Regions from separate parts of the Homo sapiens genome. Here region 1 is linked to region 2. The links are contacts of gene promoters, found by promoter capture Hi-C in blood cells and fetal thymus (Javierre and others, 2016). All regions are on one chromosome and are shown on one strand. The core of a region is centred on a gene start or on the middle of the fragment in contact, and the rest is flanking DNA. Distances in the headings are between cores, read along the strand shown.

Region 1 (3,180 bases), core at 242-2,741, 180 kb before region 2:
AAAAGTGGTTTATTTGATGAACCTACTGAAGAAATAGCCAAACGAAGGTGCTTTGAGAGTGGATGTATTTCACACGATACATGCTGTAAACACTTTGCTATTGTTTTGCTCCTGCCAATGTGCTGAAACAGGTGCATAGCTATTGAATGCTGAGATACAGATGGAAATTCAGAAATTATTTTTGCGGGGTTGTCAGCCTTCTAAAATATCTCCCAATGATCTCCACTTCCTGATATTCATGTGTTTGTGTAACCTCCTCCCCAAAGGATGAACTTAGTGACTTACTTATAACTAATGGTATATGGCAAAAGTGATGGAATGTCATTTCCAATATTAGATTACAAAAAACTGTGTGACTTCTGTCTTGCTAGCAAACTCTACTGCCTTTCTGATTTTCATGTATTAATCAAGTAAGTGGCTATATTCTGAGCTGCCATTTTTGAAAGACTCATGAGGTAAGGAACTGAGGGAAGCCCCTGCCAACAGCTAGAAAGGAACTGAGGCTCTCATTCCAATACCCTGTGAGGAACTGCATGTTGCCAAAAGCCAATGAATAAACTTGGAAGTGGGTCATTCCCCAGTAGAGCCTTCAGATGAGGATGAAGACCCTGAGTCAACATCTTGATTTCAACCTAGTGAGAAACCGTAAGCCAAGGACCAAGCTAAGCTGTGCTCAGATTCCTGACCACAGAAACTGTAAGATAAGTGTGTATCAAGATGCTCAGTTTTGGAATAATTCCCTAGGTAACAATAGATGGCTAATATTAATACTTTTTTGTTTTTCTGTTATATGAATAGTATTTTGATATCTTGAAAGTGAATTGTCTTTCTCTATTGTCATATTTCTCATCCAAGATTTCAGGAGACATTCTTCCCAACAGCCTACGTGAAATAGCAAGCAAATGCAAAAATCTTATGGGAAAACAAAAAAACCTAAGAGAGGGGAGAACTTTCTCATTTTTGAGAATGGCAGTCCAGGCTATATGGATCAACTCCTCTGCTGAAAGTCATTAAAAGTGGCGGATAAAATACTCAAAACAATCTTTATAAAATAATGGAAAGACAATCTAGTGAGGAATTTCCTAGCTAAAATTTAGAAAGTGAGAACTCCAAGAACTAAGCAGAGCATTCAAACCTGCTTTTGACTGATGAGCATAGGCTTATTCTGATTATAAAAATGAGCTGTAGTTTTCAACAGTCTCCTGAGAGGAAAGGAACAAAAGTAAAAGTGGCACCAAACTGGTACTATGGCATATGGTAAAAGCAAACTGAAACCCTCCTTCATGGATGTACTTTGATCATAGAATGAAAATGATCCCAGGTAGAAGGTCTGAGGTACGAGGAGGAAACAGGTGGTAAATATATGGATGTATCCATCAGGATTCGAATAGGAAGCTGATGGCTCATTCAAGAGCTTAATTAAACATAGACTTGGCCGGACACGGTGGCTCACGTCTGTAATCCTAGCACTTTGGGAGGCCAAGGCAGGCGGATCACTTGAGATCAGGAGTTCCAGACCAGCCTGGCCAACATGGTGAAACTCTGTCTCTACTAAAAATACAAAAAGTGGCCAGGAGCGGTGGCTTACGCCTGTAGTCCCAGCTACTCAGGAGGCTGAGGCAGGAGAATTGCTTGAACCCGGGAGATGGAGGTTGCAGTGAGTCGAGATCGCGTCACTGCACTCCAGCCTGGGTGACAGAGCAAGACTCCGTCTCAAAATAAATAAATAAATGAATAAATAAATAATAAACATAGGCCAATGAAGGGACTAAATAGAGATGTAGGCAGGATTAAGAGGTCCAAAAAGAGATGGTGCAGCATCCAAGGACAAGCAGCAGTGGGAAACGGGTACCAGCCTAGACCTGATGGGGCAAGGGCAGTAGCCTTGGAGGATGGGCTGCCTTATAGGACTTGTAGCACAGAGGAATGCAGCCACGGCCAGAACTGTAGGGAGAGAACAGGAGGAATAAAAACCCTGACTTCTTTCCTCCCACCCTTCAATCTCCGGACAGTGCCTCCCACTGGCAAGGGGAAGCTGATGATGCGGTCCTGAGAGGTCAGCCTGTCAGTGCACAGAAATGAGCAGAGACAAGTGAATGATGGATCTGAAGAGGCACAGGTCATCCCTGTTGTCACTGAGCACCCATTACGTTCTTTTGTTTGGATGAACAAGCTCACATCCTTAACACAGAGATGCCCAGTATTAGTTCTACTATTACTGCAGAGGGAAGTCATTCCTGCTATACTTCTGAAACTGAAATTGTAACAACAGCCATGAAAAGTGCTCTTCATGTAAGATATCAGAGTGAAATTGAAGTGGGAAAGAAACAATTAGTTACCATAAAACATAATAGCTGCAGTTCCTGCTTCTATAGCTGGTCATAAAGCCTAAATTGATAACCATTTTGTGTCTCTCTTACCTTCCTCTAGCACTTCGTTTCCTTGGAATTTTTTATCTGGTAGAGTGACCCAAAGGATCCAAGTCATTAATGCTTCGTCTTTATTGCACTGCTGCAGTTATCCATTGACCATTATTCTGGACAGAGTATAAAAAGCCTCCCGACGGAATAGTCTCGGTTCCACTCCTAATTCTCCTTGATTGCACTGTATAGCAACAACATATTTTTCTCCTAATAATTGGATCAATTGGTACCTTTACTAGCTTAGTAAAGGTACCTCCTTCTCTGCCTGATGGTTTAGCATCATGACTTGCCCAAAATGGCCAAGAGGCAGCCTCTCCTTCCACTTGAAACCATAACTGGGTCCTTTAGTGGAAGTGTTTCTCCTTGAAACACTAGGACTCGCAAAGCCACCCACTCCAAAGTTGCAAATTTAGGAAGCAAAAAATTGCATAGGTGTGTGATTAGGTGGAATAAGGAAGAGGAACCAGTTCTACTGTGTCCAGAATTGGTTCCTTCCGGTGGGTTCTTGGGCTTGCTGACTTCAAGAATGAAGCCGCAAACTCTTGCAGTGAGTGTTACAGTTCTTAAAAATGGCGTGTCTAGAGTTTCTTCCTTCAGATGTTCAGATGTGTCCAGAGTTTCTCGCTTCCGGTGGGTTTGTGGTCTCACTTGACTTCAGGAGTGAAGCCACAGACCTTCGCAGTGAGTGTTACAACTCTTAAAAGTGGCAAGTCTGGAGTTGTTTTGTTCCTCCCGGTGGGTTCGTGGTCTCACCGAC
Region 2 (2,836 bases), core at 323-2,822:
CAGGGAGAGGAGCAGCTATGCATGCCCCAATCCTGCACATTTCCTTTTCAATTATCACAGCCAACTGACTCTACTCCAGGTTATGGGCAATTGGGGACAACATGGGGATGGGAAGATCCATGGAGCTGAGTAAAATAAAACAGATTGTGGTTTTTATGTAAAAATAGTCTTTAGAAAAACCTATGCAAAGCCATAGTATTGAAGGCAGTGCACTCAGATGATAAAACTACATAGAAAAGCAAGGAGACCATTATCATTAAAGTGAGGCTGGGGCATCTTCAGGAGGAACTGCATGTGGCCTATAGGAAGGGGAAACACAGGGCTGAATAAATGAATGCAATTTCTTTCTTCATCTCATGGGAGAAATTTGGCAATTATCTTGTGATGTTCTATTTCTTGAACAGTGATAATTTGGTGAAAATCACTGAGTCATTTTTTTAGGTGGCACTTTTATTTACTTGTATTACATTTCCCCAAAAATCATTGTTTCAAGAAAAGCTGACATGGGTCTAAGGAGGGCGAATCTTGCAGGATTTTCCCCACCTTCCTCCCAGTACATAGCATACAGTTTCAAAAACTCTTCTGCTGAATTCAGGTGCATTTCTTCTCCCATGAAATCCTGTCCATCATTGAGCGTGGACACGCCAGGGCTGGTGTCCTCGCTCCACGTCTCCTGTTCACCTGAAACCCTGGGAGCAGAGCCTGCAGGAACAAAGGGCCAGCAGACCCCTCATGCTCTGGAGTAAGGAGGACTTGTGAGAGAGCAGTGGTGAAGGATCCCATCCTGAACCCAGAGAGCCATGGCCGAGAGAGAAACGCCTGCCCCTTTAGAAATCTGTCCCTTCCCATCCAACATTCCTCCCTTCCAGACCTCACTGTACAACAGTCACAGCCTTAGCTTCTCAGGCCTCCTGTGAACTGGGCTCTTCTCTGTGTCTTTGGTGTGTATCAACACACGGAATCCTCACCTCCACGACCCCGTGTCTCTCTGCTCAGTCCTCCCGAGACTGATTCCCCAACATAGGAGAGAGCGACCACACCCTGCCTGGTACCCCCACTGAAGCTCCTGCCATGGAGAGCTCAGATATCAGGAGCCTCAGTGTCTCCCCACTACACAGTGACTCTTTGGGGACAGTGTCTAGCTCTGCTGTGTTGAACTCCACCTCACGGCCGCTGAGGGAGGAAGGAGAGGTTGCCTGCTCATCCCACCTGCACCCCCATCTCTTATATCCTAGTGTCACCTCTGACCTACAGAGAGACATCCACAGCCTGTACTTCATAGGTCTGGCCACATGGGACTCATTTTCACCTTATGGAAAATATCACCCAAGGGGAAGGGCACTGAGAGGGAGGCAGTGGGCGGGGTGGGCCCTGCATGGGGTTGGAATCTGGGTGAGTCTTTCATCCTCTCTGGCCTCAGGGTCCCCAGGAGTGGACGGGGTAGTGGACGGTGGATCTTCCAGGGGTGACCCGGCCCTGACAGTGTCTGTGTGTGAAGTTCCTCCTGTGAGGTCACCGTTCAGAACCCACCCCCAACTTCCTGTGCGGCTTCCTCGAAATCTTGAGTTCTCAGTTCCTGAGAGAAGAACCCTGAGGAACAGACTTACCTCAGCAACCCTGGCACCTCCAACCCGACACATGCTACTGCTGCTGCTACTGCTGCCACCCCTGCTCTGTGGGAGAGTGGGGGCTAAGGAACAGAAGGATTACCTGCTGACAATGCAGAAGTCCGTGACGGTGCAGGAGGGCCTGTGTGTCTCTGTGCTTTGCTCCTTCTCCTACCCCCAAAATGGCTGGACTGCCTCCGATCCAGTTCATGGCTACTGGTTCCGGGCAGGGGACCATGTAAGCCGGAACATTCCAGTGGCCACAAACAACCCAGCTCGAGCAGTGCAGGAGGAGACTCGGGACCGATTCCACCTCCTTGGGGACCCACAGAACAAGGATTGTACCCTGAGCATCAGAGACACCAGAGAGAGTGATGCAGGGACATACGTCTTTTGTGTAGAGAGAGGAAATATGAAATGGAATTATAAATATGACCAGCTCTCTGTGAATGTGACAGGTAAGGCACGGGCTCCAAGAGAGGCCAAAGGCAAATGTGATGAGGGCTTTAGGGCACGGCTGAGACGGGACACATGTCCTGGGAGGGGGCCGGGGGTGATGGACTCAGGGGAGGAGCTGGACCAGAGCCTGAGCTTCCCCAGGACCGCACCTTGGATGCCCCTCCTGATCCTGCAAGCCCCTCCCCTCACCAGCCCTGACCCACAGGCCTGACATCCTCATCCTGCCTCTGACGCTGGCACTGTGGCATGTGGGGCCTTATGACTCCTTGTTTTGGGGCCTGTCCTAGGCATGGCCGGGGTTTAGCACCATCCCAGGCCTCTCCCCACCAGATGCCAGAAGCACCCACCCCACCCATGCAGCGAGACAATTATCTCCACACATTGTCAAACGTCCTGGGGGGTTAAGTCCTCCCCAGTTGAGAGCCTTAGGTCTACACAACCCCGTGACTCTCTCAGGCCAGGCCAGGGAGGAAGCACTTCCTGGCGCAAACCAAGGGCAGCAGAGGCACCTGAGCCTGGACAGGGAGACTCAGCACACGGCCCCTCCATCTCTCATGCCCCGAGGTCCTCGGAGATCCACATTTAGATGCTCAAAAGACAGGAGGGACCTCCACGATGGTCCAGAGGCCGGGAGGGCAGGACCTACGTGTCTGGTGCAGGCCCTGGTGCTTCAGGGAAGCCCGGAGGTAGGAGGCGGGACACGGTCTCTTCTCCTCCCTGGGTGGGTCTCTAGGGTCTCTGAGCTTTAGGGTTTCCTTCACTCTGTGCAG

What was found. Contacts are between HindIII fragments. The CHiCAGO score rates a contact against its expected background, and 5 or more counts as called.
Region 1: a contact is called between a fragment that was not itself captured here and the fragment with the promoter of SIGLEC12 in region 2, in 1 of 17 cell types (monocytes). The highest score is 7.4, in monocytes.

Annotation. Positions count from the first base shown.
Region 1 is chr19:51,676,797-51,679,976 of GRCh38, reverse strand. No RefSeq gene overlaps it. Among named protein-coding and RNA genes, the nearest start is that of MIR99B, 14 kb to the left of the region's middle. The HindIII fragment of the contact is 6,463 bases long and covers 1-3,180 here.
Region 2 is chr19:51,500,536-51,503,371 of GRCh38, reverse strand. It overlaps SIGLEC12 (sialic acid binding Ig like lectin 12), which reads left to right and starts at 1,572. Exons shown (of 8, transcript NM_053003.4): 1 at 1,572-2,065. The coding sequence starts at 1,639. The HindIII fragment of the contact is 28,149 bases long and covers 1-2,836 here.